Regions from separate parts of the Homo sapiens genome. Here region 2 is linked to region 1. The links are contacts of gene promoters, found by promoter capture Hi-C in human tissues and cell types (Jung and others, 2019). All regions are on one chromosome and are shown on one strand. The core of a region is centred on a gene start or on the middle of the fragment in contact, and the rest is flanking DNA. Distances in the headings are between cores, read along the strand shown. Region 1 holds the start of HNF1A (HNF1 homeobox A). Region 2 overlaps RNF10 (ring finger protein 10).

The links. The method cuts DNA at HindIII sites, captures the fragments that hold promoters and counts their contacts. A contact is called where the count stands out against the background at its distance.
Region 2: a fragment that was not itself captured here is called in contact with the fragment with the promoter of HNF1A in region 1 in 1 of the 25 tissues and cell types used here (lymphoblastoid cells).

The regions. Positions count from the first base shown.
Region 1 is chr12:120,976,855-120,980,801 of GRCh38, reverse strand. It overlaps HNF1A (HNF1 homeobox A), which reads right to left and starts at 2,259. Exons shown (of 10, transcript NM_000545.8): 1 at 1,708-2,259. The coding sequence starts at 2,033. The HindIII fragment of the contact is 9,653 bases long and covers 1-3,947 here.
Region 2 is chr12:120,559,637-120,563,583 of GRCh38, reverse strand. RNF10 (ring finger protein 10) reads right to left here. Exons shown (of 17, transcript NM_014868.5): 7 at 2,698-2,858; 8 at 514-639; 9 at 1-237. Among named protein-coding and RNA genes, the nearest start is that of POP5, 20 kb to the left of the region's middle. The HindIII fragment of the contact is 5,481 bases long and covers 1-3,947 here.

The DNA.
Region 1 (3,947 bases), core at 1,010-3,509:
GGCCTCTCTCTACACTCTCTGCCTCAGCTTCCAGGTCTCTGCTGGTCCCTAGGAAGCACTTTGACCTCTGCTTCCCCTTCAAATGCTGTGGATCAAGCCTCCCCAACCCCACCATCCCACCAAAGGGGGCTGCTGACCGAGAGAGCTCACTCAGCCAGGTAAGAAAGCATCCCCTGCCCCCACCCTCACCCCAAAGCCCCCAGTCCCATCTGGGGCCCTGGGCAGGTCAGGCCCAGCCCCACCCCGTCAGGTTGCCTTCGCCCTGGGTCTGGGATGCCTGACTCTTTGCCCCTCCCCTGCAGCTCTGGAGTCCTTTGCCCTCCTCTTCCTGCCAAGTCAGGGGGCCCTGACTGCTCCCCTGCCCCCTGTCCAGGCCCTCGGGAGGCTCCCTGAGGCCTCTGGGAAAGCAGGAATCCACCAGCCCTCCCCCACCCCAGCTGGGATCAGGACCTTGGACAGAAAAGAGATGGGCCCCTTTGGAGCATCTTTGGGGCTCGGTCTCTCTCTGACTCCCTGGCCACCCCCTGCAGGCCTCTGGTCCCCGGTCATAGCAATTGAGAGCACCGAACAGAGTAGGTTTGGGGCCTCAGTTTGGTGAACTTAGTCTAGCTCCTTCCCGGCTCTAAGCCCCAGTTTCCCCATTTGTGAAGCAGAGTCACCAATAGCTTCTGCCCAGGACTCCTCACCATGAAGGGAAATTATTCCTGTGAAACCTCAGCACAGCGCCCAGGAAGTAGTGAACCTCCTCAAGCAGGCGCTGTAGGGTGGAGGTCAGGGAGCCGCTGGGGAGGGGTGGCCCCTGTAGCCCCCAGGCCATCCTTCCTTCTCCCCCACACCCCCATCCCCCACCCCCACTAGGTGGGAGGTGGGTTGGCCCAGATCTTTCCAGGCCACCATTCCTACAAGTTAATGATCACAGACCTTATCAGAGCCTTTTGCCATTTATAAATTTATAAAACAAAAGAGAAATAATAAAGCACATGGGTAATTAGTAACTAGGTCAGCTCTGCTGAGGAGAGGGGAGGCATCGAGCTCAGGACCCACCCAGTTCTCCAGGAGACGGGGAGTCCGCCAGCGGATGGGGATGTAGAACGGGCAGCCTCTAATGGCGCCTGCTGGTGAGGTGGGGTGCCTGTGGCCATACAGGAAAGGGGAGCAGCTCCCACCTCGAGGCTCTGTCTGCCTCAGGTAAGAAAGACCTGGGCTTCCCTGGCTAAACGCATGAGTCCCTAGGAGGCCAGGAAAGCCCCCAAACCCCAGCTTCGGGCCCTCCTCCCTGGCAGTGCTTCCTGGGCCCCGGAGCCTACCCACTGAGGACTCAGTGCAGGAGTTAGGGTCTGGAGAGTATAAATGATCAGAGTGGCTAAAAATTTCCACCACCTCCCAGTTCTCCAGGCATTTGAGTTGTGAACTCACCTGCTTTTTCTCCCATCTTGGACCCCCCTGGGAAATGTCCCCCTTGCCCAAGGACTGGGCTAAAGGCCTGGGCTCATGGGATTTGGGACTCTGCAGAGGAGCAGTTCAGGGGCTGGAGGCTCAAACCTCCAAGCAAGGACCCCTGGGCTCTCATGGGCCCTGTCCCCCTTCCCAGCAACTAGGCTAAAGGCTGAAGGTCATGGGGACTCAACTCAGAAGGGGGGCTCGTTAGGAGCTGAGGGGGGCCCCTCTAGGCTCTCCTGGGAGCGGGGACGGGGCAGGGCTCCTTACTGCAGAAGGGTCTCCACCACGGCTTTCTGGTGGGCCGCCTCCTCAGGGCTGAGGTTCTCCAGCTCTTTGAGGATGGGTGGCGTGAAGTCTTCCCCATCGTCGTCCGTCTCGTCCTCGGAGCCCCGAGTCTCCCCCAGCCCATTGGGCAGCTCAGCCAGCTCCCCTCGACCGCCGCCGCAGGACTCCCCCTTGTCCAGGGGGCCTTCTCCAGCCAGGAGGTAGGGCCCCGGCTCACCCAGTGCCTGGATCAGTGCCTCTTTGCTCAGCCCTGACTCGAGCAGGGCCGCCAGGAGCTCCGTCTGCAGCTGGCTCAGTTTAGAAACCATGGCTCGGCTGCCACAGGGCCACGCGGCCCGGGTCCACCACGCTAGCCGCCTCCCCCACCGCGTGGGTTGCGTTTGCCTGCCGGCCGGCAGACACAAACCAAACTCCTTGCACCCACTGCCCCCCCAAAACCCCACTAGCCAAGCCCTGTGGGCACCCCCAACCCCCAACCCTGGCCCCAGCGGCCCGTGAATCAGGGCCCCTGCCTGTTCTGTTTACATTGGAGCTGGGGAAATTCTCCAAGGTTCATATTTATCCGTGTGCTTAGCGAAGGGACTGAACTTTGGACTTCAGCCCTGCAAAGTGCAGGCCTCATGGCAGCGGAGAGGGACAGGGAGCTATGGCCTGCGATGGGAGTGGGCAGAGGGGAGGGTGGGGGAGGCGCAGGTGAGGGGCCCTGAGCAGCTGGGATGGAAGGTGCTGGGAGCCAGGGAGGCCATCAGGAGAGCAGCGTTGGGTCCCACCCCCGAAAGAACCTTGTAGGGGCATCATGCTGAGACAGGAGAGCCAAAAATGCTTGCTGCTTACGAGAGCGGCAGCAGCAGGGAGCTCTAGACAGCTGGGCTAGCTCTTCTCAAGGGCAGAGGATGCTCACGGCCATTTTGGGGCCCTTCCATCCATTTTGGGACCCTTCCACCCCACTCCCGGCCTGACACCAGGCCTCCCTGTAGGAAAAAATATGTTAAGATTACCATGTGCCAAGAACAGTGCTGGCTCTGTGAGGGCGAATTCACTTCATTGCATTCTGCTACCAACTGTGAGCAGTTACAGAGATTATCCCCATTTTATAGAGGAGGAAATCGAGGCTCTGAGCGGTTAAGTAACTTGTCCAGGGTCATACAGCCAGCAAGGCAGAAAACATGCAAGGTGAGACTGAGTTGGGATGAGTGTGACACTTGCCTCAGGTGCAAATTTATTTTTTTATTTTTTGAGCTATGTTCTCACTTTGTCACCCAGGCTGGAGTGCTGTGGCGCGATCATGGCTTACTGCAGCCTTGACTTCCTGGGTTCAGGTGATCCTCCCGCCTCAGCCACCCAAGTACCCAAGTAGCTGGCACTACAGGCACGCACCACGACACCCAGCTGATTTTGTGTGTGTGTGTTGTGTGTGTTTGGGTTGTGTGTGTGTGTGTTTTTGAGACAGAGTCTCACTCTGTCACCCAGGCTTGGAGTGCAGTGGAGCAATCTTGGCTCACTGCAACCTCCGCCTCCCAGGTTCAAGCGATTCCCCTGCCTCAGCCTCCGGAGTAGCTGGGATTACAGGCACATACCACTACACCCGGCTAATTTTTTTGTATTCTTTATTGAGTTGGGGTTTCACCATGTTGGCCAGGCTGGTCTTGAACTCTTGACCTCAAGTGATTCGTCCGCCTCGGCCTCCCAAAGTGCTGGGATTACAGGTGTGAGCCACTGTGCCCGGCCTTGTGTGTGTATTTTTTGTGGAGACAGGGTCTTGCCATGCTGCCCAGGTTGGTCTCAAACTCCTGGACTCAAGCCATCCGCCCACCTCAGCCTCCCAAAGTGTTAGGATTACAGGCGTGCGCCACCATGCCTGGCAGCCCAGGTGCAAATTTTAAGGGAATGCCAAAAAACCCAGTCATCAAGGTAAATAACATTTTTATGCAATATGTTTTTAAAATTAAAATGAATGCAAAACCCCAAAGAATTAAAAACAGATGTCTATACAAAAACTTGTGCGTGAATGCTCATAGCAGCATTATTCACAAGAGCCAAAAAGTGGAAAAAACATAAATATTCATCACCTGATGAATATATAAACAAAATATGGCTTGACCATGCAATGGTATAGACATATATATTTTTTTCTTTCTTTTTTTTTTTTTTTGAGATGGGGGTCTCGCTCTGTTGCCCAGGCTGGAGTGCAGTGGTGCAATCTTGGCTCACTGCAACCTCCG
Region 2 (3,947 bases), core at 507-3,006, 420 kb after region 1:
GAAGCCTGACTTGGTGATGGGTTCCTGCTGGCTGGACTCAGTGCAAATGGTCCCCTCTTTAAGATTGTCATCTGCTAACTCCAAGTCATCACAGGCCTCTGGCAACCCCTCAGGCTCTGGTTCAGACACTGCTTCCTCCTCTTCTACCAGAGGGAGAGCAAGAGGTCTAGAAGGAGTGTCCAGAGAACAAACTTCCGTGGTTTCTTCATCGAAGGCAGACAGATACTCCAGCACACCCTGTTGCAGCAAACTCTAAGTCAACAGAAAGGATATCTCCTGCTTTCCGAAAGCAATGTGGCAAATGCAGACCTAAGAGCCAAGCTCCCTAGATGTTTATCTTAGCTGTCGTGTTCACTGATTTAACACCCCTGGGGAAAGAACTAATAACAAGCATACAGAAAATACTCATTGTCCCCTCTTCTCTTGAGAAGGTTTAGATCTCACAGTAATGCCTACCAGCTCAATGACAGCATTTGAGGAACGGCAGCCACTTAGTAACAGGAACACACTAACCTTCCTGGGTTGAAAAACAGACTCCTTCGCCAAGGGAGCCATCAGCACCAGTTGTTCCAGAGCAGCCACAACACCAGTGACCTCCCTTCTGCTTCCGGCCAATCCCGACAGAGCCTCTTCCCGAGTCTAACGTGGCCAGAGAGAACACCAGAGAAGGTTAAGTTTCCAGACACACACTTAGCTTGAAGGGCAAGGGCTTAGAATGGCCTCTCAACAGGACCAAAAGTTAAAAGGCAATGAGACCCAATGGGAAGGAATTAGGTGCTTAAATATCTCAACTTTGAGGGAAACAGGAAGCAAAAAGCATGCAATACCCACTAAGGATTGGAATCTGCTTAGAATCTGACACTGGGGAGTGTAAATTAGTTCAATCATTGTGGAAGACAGTGTGGTGATTCCTCAAAGACCTAAAGACAGAAATAAAATTTCACCCAGCAATCCCATTACTGGGTATATAGCCAAAGGAATATAAATCATTCTACTGTAAAGACACATACGGCCAGGTGTGGTGGCTCATGCCTGTAATCCCAGCACTTTGGGAGACTGAGGTGGGCGGATCACCTGAGGTTGGAAGTTCAAGACCACCCTGACCAACATGGAGAAACCCCATCTCTACTAAAAATACAAAATAACCCAGGCATGGTGGGGCATGCCTGTAATTCCTGCTACTCAGGAGGCTGAGGCAGGAGAATCACTTGAACCTTGGAGGCAGAGGTTGTGATGAGCCGAGATCACGCCACTGCACTCCAGCCTGGGCAACGAGAGCAAAACTCTGTCTCAAAAAAAAAAAAAAAAAAAAGAAAGAAAGAAAAAGAAAAACCAAATATCGCACACATGTTCTCACTTCTAAGTGGGAGCTAAATGATGAAACATGGACACATAGAGGGGAACACACACTGAGGCCTATCAGAGGGTGGAGAGTGGGAGGAGGGAGGGGATCAGGAAAAATAACCAATGGGTACTAAGCTTAATACCTGGGTGAAAATCTGTATAACAAACCCCCATGACACAGGTTTACCATGTAACAACCTGCATTTGTACCCCTGAACTTAAAAGTTAAAAAAAATAAAAGAGAATCTGACACAAACAACACTATACAAAAAACTTCCAGAACAGAAATCTAAGAACATGAAACTAACCTAGTTTTTACAAACTATGCTCAGACAGAGGTCCAGAGTAGTAGGAAGGATTTAGCTAACTCCACCTCAGCCTGGACAGCTCTAATTCTATGTAGCCTTTCTTATGCCTGTAATGGCATTTGAACAAATACGGCTGCAACGTATTATAGAAAGAAAGCAAAAGTTAAATACACAGGACTCTACCCAAGGAGCCCTTGGGAGTCAGGGAGAAGGGAATTCAAATACCAGCTGCATCCCTTACTAGCAAATTACCCAACCCAGGATTCAGTTTCCTCATCCATGAAAGGGGATAGTTCTATCTACCACACTAGAAGCTTAAGTGAGATAAATGTGTATAGCACAAGTCCTATCAAATGCTGATCACTCAATAAATATGGGCTTCTATTGCTCTAAGCTAGATCAGTGGTTCCAGGAGTGTGGTCTGGGGATGAGCAGCCATCAGAATCACCCTAGAACTTGTTATATGCAAATTACTGAGCCTACTGAGCTTAACCTATGCAATCAATATCTCAAAGTGGGACCTAACAACCAGTGGTTGTGATGCTTCAAGAATCTCTGTTGTGGAAGATAAAAGACCCAGGGAATTCTGTTCTTGTGTAATTCTTGCCGTTTCAGGTACTCCTAAGGCATACTGGGCAGGCCATAATACTTTCTCCACAATGTCTTTCAAAACACCTCTAGAATAGAATCTTAAGTATTTTCCCAGAAAACAAAGAACTCTAACTTGCTTTAAGAACATAGCTAATCTAAAAAACTCCACTGTCACAATTAGTTATAAAATCATTTTGACTTGCTCCTTTCAGCTCTAGAAAGAGCTTTAAAAGCCCTAGGTTAAACCTTCTCTACTGTCATCAAACAAAGCCCAAAACAAATTGGCTTTTTTAGCCATTCTCTGCTTATTGTCTTAAATGTGGAATGGAACTAACTTAATCCCCAGCGTCCATCATCTCACCCCCGACAGAGTGAAAAGGTTTAGCATTTCTGGTTTTCACCACAGAACGCCGAGAAAGTGAAAAGGTTTAGCATCTCCAATGCATCCTCTCACCTTGAGCTCCTGGATAGCTGCCTCAATAAAGCAGGACTCGGGAGTGTGCTTCTCCTCTGCCAGCTGCTGCTCTAGTGCTACTTTCTCCTCCAGAACTACCCGGTGCAGCACCTGCTCCTTAGAGGCCAGCAGCAACTTGGAGTACTGGCTGTGCTGTTCATCTATAAGAATGCCAGCAAGATCAAAGAAATGCAACATTCAAAGCTCACGATGGTGTAGCTAAATAGGAATTTTCAAATACAGCCTTTTCTCTGGGGTGAAAATGGGGTAATTTAGCATGATTTCCTAGAAAATAATTTAACAATGGTCTTAAAATAAGGTCTGTAGCTCTGCTCTTGATATAAGAAATCTAAGAAACCCAGAGATGTAGTCAAAACTTTAGTCACGCGTTTATTGTTACAGCATTGTATGTAATATCAGAAAAGCTCAAACCAGCCAGGCACCATGGCTCACACCTGTAATCCCAGCACTTTGGGAGGTCAAGGCGGGTGGATCACTTGAGATCAAGAGTTCGAGACCAGCCTGACCAACATGGTGAAACCCCGTCTCTACTAAAGATACAAAAAAGTTAGTCGGGCCTGGTAGGGCATGCCTGTAATCCCAGCTACTTGGGAGGCTGAGGCAGGAGAATCGCTTGAACCCAGGAGGCAGAGGTCGCAGTGAGCCAAGATCATGCCACTGCATTCCAGCTTGGGCAACAAAAGCGAAACTCTGTCTCAAAAAAAAAAAAAACAAAAAAAACCACACACAGAAAAAGAAAAGCTCAAACCAACCAGTAAAACCAACAATAAAGAATAAAGAAATGGTGGACCAGCGCAGTGGCTCACACCTATAATCCCAGTACTTTGAGAGGCCAAGACAGGAAGATTGCTTGAGTTTAGAAGTTTAAGACCAAGCCAGCTGGGTGTGGTGGCTCACGTTCAGCACTTTGGGAGGCTGAGGCAGGTGGATCACCTGAAGTTAGGAGTTCGAAACCAGCCTGGCCAACATAGAGATACCCTGTTTCTATTAAAAATACAAAAAATTAGCTGGGCGTGGTGACGGGCGCCTATAATCCCAGCTACTAGGGAGGCTGGAGTAAGAAAATCGCTTGAACCCAGGAGGCAGAGGTTTCAGTGAGCCAAGATCGCACCATTGCACTCCAGCCTGGGCAACAAGTGCAAAACTCTGCCTCAAAAAATAAAATTAAAAAAAAATAACACCAGGCGGAGTACGGTGGCTCACACCTGTAATCCCAGCACTTTGGGAGG